Linked DNA regions of Homo sapiens: region 1 is linked to region 2. Evidence: promoter capture Hi-C in 16 types of primary human blood cells and fetal thymus (Javierre and others, 2016). All regions are on one chromosome and are shown on one strand. Each heading gives the region's core, a stretch centred on a gene start or on the middle of the fragment in contact. The rest is flanking DNA. Distances are from core to core; before and after follow the strand shown. Region 1 holds the start of DAG1 (dystroglycan 1). Region 2 holds the start of NDUFAF3 (NADH:ubiquinone oxidoreductase complex assembly factor 3).

The links. The method cuts DNA at HindIII sites, captures the fragments that hold promoters and counts their contacts. A CHiCAGO score of 5 or more calls a contact.
Region 1: a fragment that was not itself captured here is called in contact with the fragment with the promoter of NDUFAF3 in region 2 in 3 of 17 cell types (neutrophils, megakaryocytes and erythroblasts); the score reaches 6.5 in neutrophils.

Annotation. Positions count from the first base shown.
Region 1 is chr3:49,469,802-49,473,052 of GRCh38, reverse strand. DAG1 (dystroglycan 1) reads right to left here and starts at 2,786. Exons shown (of 3, transcript NM_004393.6): 1 at 2,620-2,786. RefSeq lists a silencer at 2,368-3,107. The HindIII fragment of the contact is 729 bases long and covers 1,400-2,128 here.
Region 2 is chr3:49,020,313-49,023,464 of GRCh38, reverse strand. NDUFAF3 (NADH:ubiquinone oxidoreductase complex assembly factor 3) reads right to left here and starts at 1,344. Exons shown (of 5, transcript NM_199069.2): 1 at 1,244-1,344; 2 at 927-1,119; 3 at 697-763; 4 at 489-589; 5 at 1-409. The coding sequence starts at 1,320. The coding sequence ends at 293. MIR191 (microRNA 191) reads left to right here and starts at 2,756; the gene lies at 2,756-2,847. It also overlaps a transcript of DALRD3 not described here. RefSeq lists silencers at 954-1,003, 1,064-1,183, 1,224-1,323, 1,544-1,733, 1,770-1,972 and an enhancer at 1,488-2,257. The HindIII fragment of the contact is 13,281 bases long and covers 1-3,152 here.

The DNA.
Region 1 (3,251 bases), core at 515-3,014, 450 kb before region 2:
GCCTCCCGGGTTCAAGCGATTCTCCTGTCTCAGCCTCCCGAGTAGCTGCGATTAAAGGCGCCCGCCACCATGCCTGGCTAATTTTTGTATTTTTTAGTAGAGACGGGGTTTCACCATGTCGGCCAGGCTGGTCCTGAACTCCTGACCTCAGGTAATCCACCTGCCTCAGAATCCCAAAGTGCTGGGATTACAGGCGTGAGCCACCACGCCCTGCCTGGAGATAAAGTTGTTTTTTGTTTTGTTTTTGAGACGGAGTCTCGATCTGTGGCCCAGGCTGGAGTGCAGTGGCTCTATCTCAACTCACTGCAAGCTCCGCCTCCCGGGTTCACGCCATTCTCCTGCCTCAGCCTCCTGAGTAGCTGGGACTACAGGTGCCCACCACCACGCCCGGCTAATTTTTTGTATTTTTAGTAGAGAGGGGGTTTCACCGTGTTAGCCAGGATGATCTCGATCTCCTGACCTCGTGATCCGCCCGCCTCGGCCTCCCAAACTGCTGGGATTACAGGTGGGAGCCACCATGCCCGGCGATAAAGTTTTTAATAATCAAATGCCAGGCCTCCTTTCCTATGCATCGACGGCAGTCTAAGTGGTCCCTAAGTGGTCCCTCCAAATCCCACCATCCTCAACACTAACCAGACACAAGCAACTCTGTAGGTCACTATACCAGGTAGTCAACAAGGAATTTAAATCCTTGGTTATGCTTGGTCTTCTGGCCCATGCATTCCAGAATGTAGCTCCTCCCCCATCATGGCAGGACATCCCCTCTGTACTACCTTTTCAGTCTCTCTTTTCTGATGGCTCCTTCTCCCTCCCCACCTCTCCTCTGTTAGCTGACTTAACTGCCAGAGGTCCTGACCCCCTCCCTCTTCCTGCCACTCCACCAGCAATATCTTTCTAAACACAGGTCTGGGTCACACCACTCTACTGATTAAAAGGCTCCCCAGACTCCTGCACCCCGCATACAAAGTTGGAACTCCTGAGCACAAGGCAGGCCCAGAGCTCGCACCTGCCAAGCTGGAGGACTCCCAAGCACTATTTTAGGTGCTCATGTACATGTGGTTCCCTGTGTCCAGGCCTTGATGTCCCCCACTAATTCCTGCTGGCCCTGAAAACCACAGCTCAGGAATTCCCTCTCTCCTCAGGCTACTATGTGAGCACGCTTAGCGGGCAGACACTATTAATCATGGGTTCCCTGGTCCCCACTGCCCCCTAAACTGAATTCCTTAAGGGCAGAAGCAGACTCTTTTACATGGGTCCCTAGGATCTACCACAGAATTTGGCAGGTAGTGAATCAAAATATTTGTTCAAATGAATAAATGCATTTTGCAAAATCAATTTTTAAGAACAGTGAGGATTTGCACTGTGCCTCTTTTAACAAAAGCACATGTCAGCACAAGCTTTTATATCCCATAGGGTCTTCACATGATGGATCCAACTCCCTACTGAAATCTGATTTCTCCAAAATACAGGACACAGGCCATGAGCTCTTCTTCCTTAGTTCACAGCAAAAAAAACCCACAAAAGTTCAACTAAACTTCTCCATACTCAAACTATGGATTTTTATGCCTCCAAAATGTAGTACGGTTGAATTCTTTTTTAGAACAGGAACATTCCAAAATAATGTCTCTGAACTTAACTAAGCATAGAACCTGATAAAACTGCAATACCCCATCTACACCAGACTTTGCAAAACACCTGAAAGCACATCCAGCTCTTTATCTGGAATTATGTCCTATAAACACCACCTTCCCTTCACGGAGTCTGGCTTCTATGCCAGGAGTCACTTCTACTCGCTTATTTAGGGAAGCAGCAGGCTAGAATCTTAAGTTAGACTCTGCGCTATGAAGGTGCTGTCCCAGGCTCTTGCCTCAACCAGTCAAAACTTCATCGTCACCATTAAAACTAATTCTGAAGCAACTCGATTTACAAAAATAAGAACTTTTCAAGTTATAGAGATTAAAGGATGCATTTTAAGTTACCAGTTGAGTTTGTAGGAAACTAACTTAGAATTTATGGCAAAAAGATTCCAAGCCGAGACGACATTTTCTGTGGAGACACTATCCAAATACACTCGCAGGTGAACCAGGTCTGCCAAATACAAAGTGAAAAGGTAGTAAGTAAACAAGCTTCCAAAGGAGCTCAAGTAAGGATGACGGAACCCACCAAGGCTCTGAGCAGCTCTGACAGAGCAGTGGCGGCAGCGGTGCCCTTCCCTGCCTCTAGCGGGGCTCGACTCCCCACAGTCGGAATCCGGCCCAACTGGGCCACAACCCCTATTGGAAGCCAGGGAGGCGGCCCGCAGGCGGCTCACGACCGCGGCCAAGGCGCAGGCTCCACGTTCCCGGGAGCGCGGGCCGAGCTAAGGCCTGGCCCATCGCCGCGGCGCGCGGCCCGGGCCTTGCAGCCGAACGCTCCGAGCCTTTGCCTGCGGGACCCAGAGCAAAGGGGCGGCTCCGCCCGGGCGGCACCGCCTCCTCACCCACAAGGACGTCCGCGGCCGTGTCCCCGCCCCGGGCCGAACAGCGAGCAGCAGCAGGTGTTCCGCGGAAGGCTCAGCCGGCAGCAGGGATGGGGGCCCAAGCAGCCAGGCACAGCGGATAGGGCGGGCGGTGCACTCACCCAGCGCCGGCGGGAGGACCGCGGCAGGTGTTCGCTCCTCCTGGCCCCAGGACGCCGCCACCGCCGCTCCCCGGGGATTCGGCGCGAAGCTGCCGCCGCCGCCACCGCCAAGCCTAAGAGGCGCGAGCGCCGCGCCGCAGCCTTCGCGCGAGCACGTACCGGGCGGTGAGAGGGCGCTGAGCGCAAGGGCGGGGCGCGCGGCCGGAGCCTAGCAACCGCCTGACACGCGAGTGTTGCAGCCAATCCAGCGGCCAGCTCCGCGCGGCGCCGACTGGCTGTCCGCGCGCCGCCGGCTTCTGCCTGCGTCGGCCGCTCCGCAGCGCGCCGCACCCGCGCGCAAGCCCCGCCCCGGCCAGCACCTCTCTGCTCATTGGCTAGCCACTCCCCCGCCCTAAAAGTCACGCCCCATTATGGAAGCCTCGCCCCCACGGCCAGGGAAGTCCGTCCCGGGACACACCCCGGCGGTCGGTCCCGGTCACTCGGAGCCTTCAGAACCAGTAGTGTGGGGGAGGGGCTCCCCGCCCAACTTCAGGCCTTTGGGCCTCTAAGACTAATCAAGGGACAGTCAGGACTGCGAACTGGCCCAGCAACTGGCCACCCGTCGACTGCGTTCAGCCCTCCTTATTTCCTTC
Region 2 (3,152 bases), core at 95-2,594:
AATCTGCATGTGAGCAAGTAGGTCTACAACAGGCAAACATACTGCTTCCCGACTTCTGAAAAGTCAAGGAATCCTAAGTAATCTAGATGAAAAAGTGACTCCTTGGTTTCTTCACATTCCCCTCCAAGAGCCCAGTGAGCCATCAGCTCCTGGCCAGCAACACACCTGATACAAAATGGGAGAAGTGTATAAATTATTATGTTGATAAGCAAGATAAGTGCCAAAGGGTAGATAAGAGTGAAAGCATTGGGAAGCCTGGCAGAGTGCAGTCAGCAGGTCAGTTCCTGGCGGTTCATTGAGCAGCTTGGCCCAAAGATGTAAGTGAAGTCCCTCCTGGTGGAGGGATGAGAGCAGCTCCAGTTACTCGGCCTTCATGACACAGGAAGTTGAAGGTGGCACAGGCATTGGGCTGCAAAGAAAAGGCCAGCATCAGCCTGTCTAGCGCCAGGCCTGTGCTCCCCGCAGCATGCCCCAGTCCCGGGACTCACCGTGTCCTGCACTTCCACAGCAATGCCCCGCTGCCTCATGGCTTGAAGCACCTGGGACTGCAGCCTCTCGGTCCGGTCTCCAGTCCCCACCACCACGATCTCTAGGGAAGGGTGGGTGTGGCTAGTCTACAGTTCTGTTGAGAGGCTGCAGTGGGGGTCGCCTTCTGGGGCCCAGAACACCTCTGTTCTCCCTCCCCTTCCCCAGTACCTATCCGGGGCTCCAGCAACCAGAAGAGGGAAAAGCTGTCTTCGGTGATGTCCTGGTGGGATCCCACCTGTGCAGGGAGGAGGCACATTTAATACGACAAATCCACGCAGCCTCTCCCCATCTCCATCCACTGCAGGAGGAGACAGAGGAAAGCCAAGTTTGCAGGGACCAAGCAGGGTGAGGGCCTGTGACTCTGGGCCTCAGTTTCCACACTGCGGGCCAGGACTCACGTTCCACTGCACCACCGAGTGCGGGAGCAGAGCGCAGGGGCCGAGCACGCGGTTTCCGTTTATCATGAAGCCGCGGCTGTTGTAGCTGTCGATGTACATTGCCTGAGCGGCCTCGCGTTGCAGCAGAGAGATGCGCGTCCGCTGATACAGCTCGTCATCCGCCGGCGAGAGCCGATGCCCTCGCCGCGGGGCCCTGCGGAGGGAAAGGGTCAGGGGCGCGGGGCCGGGCCGGGCAGCCCGAGAGGCCGGAAGGTGCTGGGCTGGCAGTCGCCGGCCCTAGGGGGCTGGATGGTCGAGGGCGCGGGGTCCAAGCTCACCAGGGAAGCTCAACGGGCGGACAGCGCAGCGAGGGTCGCGCTCGGTACAAGCTACGTAGCGCGAGAGCGGTGGCCATGGCTGACCAACGCGCGGCGAAGTCGTCACCGGCGCCGTTAGTCCCCGGGTTGGGAGGGCCCTGCGGAGCCTGACCCAGCGTGGCTGCAGCGCCCCCTGCGTCCCGGAGGGCACCGCACAGCTCGACCGGCCCAGCAGGCGAGTGTCCTCAGTCTTAGGAGGCCGAGTTCCCCGACCTCCGGCGCAGCTCCAGTGTCAGCACCTGCCGCCCTCCCCGCCCCGGGCCCTTGCCCATAGTCCCGGGGGAGTGGAACACCTGGCAGCGTGGCCACCCTCAGGGCGTTGCCTGGGCCGCAGCCGCGGCCTGGCCCCCGGGCTCTCAGCTATTAAGCCGCGCTCCCGGGGCGGGGCGACCGCCCACCTGGTCGCGTCCCGAACACCTGGCCAGGCGGTGGGTGCCAGACTTCTAGCCCCTAATTCCAGCCTTTGGGGCTTCGGGCACCGTGGGCGGGGCAGCCGGCTCAAGTTTCTCCGGCTAGACGCGGAAGCACGCCCCGCCCTAACCGTCACCCGCGCGACCGTTGGCCTCTCCGCAGCGCGCGGAGAGGGGCGTGGCCGAGCGTGGATTGGCTTCTCGGGTTCTCTAGGGGGCGTGGCCAGGTGGTTTCTCCTTAAAATGGCTCCAAGTCTGCAGGCAGCCAGAGCAAGCGGAAGGGCAAGCTGTGATAGTGTTTGGGTGGCTGTTCGGCTGGCCCAGACCAGGCCGAACCGGACCAGACTTGAAGTAGAAGCGCGTGGAGCATCACCTTGTCCTCGTTCACTCTGCTCGCGTCCTGGGAGTCCCCCGTCCCCCGTCTTGATCCAAGTCAAGGGCCTACTGGCGCGAGAGTCGCTGGCCCCCGCGCGGGGTTTGGGCATCTCGGCACGCCGGCTCTGTCGTGGCCTCAGGGGAACATTGTCGCTTTCGCTACCCGCGGGGCCGGGCGAGCGGGAAGCTCGGCACAGTGGGAGCCTGGTGGTGGGTCTCCTGGGGCCGGTCGCAATGGGTTTCCGGGGGTCCCGCGGCTGCTCTGTGGACCCCTTCGGCCCCTGGTGCTCCGGGCGCTGGCAGCGTCACCGGACAAAGGCCACCGAGCGCGGGGGTGTCCCCGAGGTGGACGCGCGGGTTTACTTCCTCTCCGGCCCCACGGGCGCGCTTCCCTCCTGACGGATTCCGAAGCCCGCCCCACCACCGTCACCGCACCAGTGGCCCAGGCTTCGTGGGACCAACAGGGCTAATCCTGCCCCACGGATCTAATCCGGATCGGGACCCGGTCCCAGGGGAGGCCCCCACCTCCCCTTCTATTGTTCTGTGGCCCAGGTGAGCGTCTTGTTCCCTCTAGACTCCGTTTCACAACCTACTCCCGGGTCTTCCTCCTGGGACTGGGGATGGGCGGGTTCTGATGTGGCCCCAGGGCGAGTGACCTGGGGGCAGGAGCTCCCCCGCCCCCCGCCAACGGCTGGACAGCGGGCAACGGAATCCCAAAAGCAGCTGTTGTCTCCAGAGCATTCCAGCTGCGCTTGGATTTCGTCCCCTGCTCTCCTGCCTGAGCAGCGCCCTGGCCCAGATGGGGTGCCCCTGACCCCCAGACATACTTTACTGAGCTGCTTGGGTCTCAGTTCCTCTCAGTTGCGCCCTCAGGCTGGAGGTGATGGGTGTAGACGTGGGAGAGCCGAGGCTGGTGGCCATCTCTGGAACCCTGGGGAGGATTGGCGAGGGAGGGTGGACCCAGGACCTCTGGGTAGGGCTGCAATGGTAGTGACTCCCCCAGGGCTGCCTCAGCCCGCATCTCGCTAAAGATAGCCCTCTTACTTCCTGGGGAAAAACCACCCCAACCGTCTTCGTGGATGAGA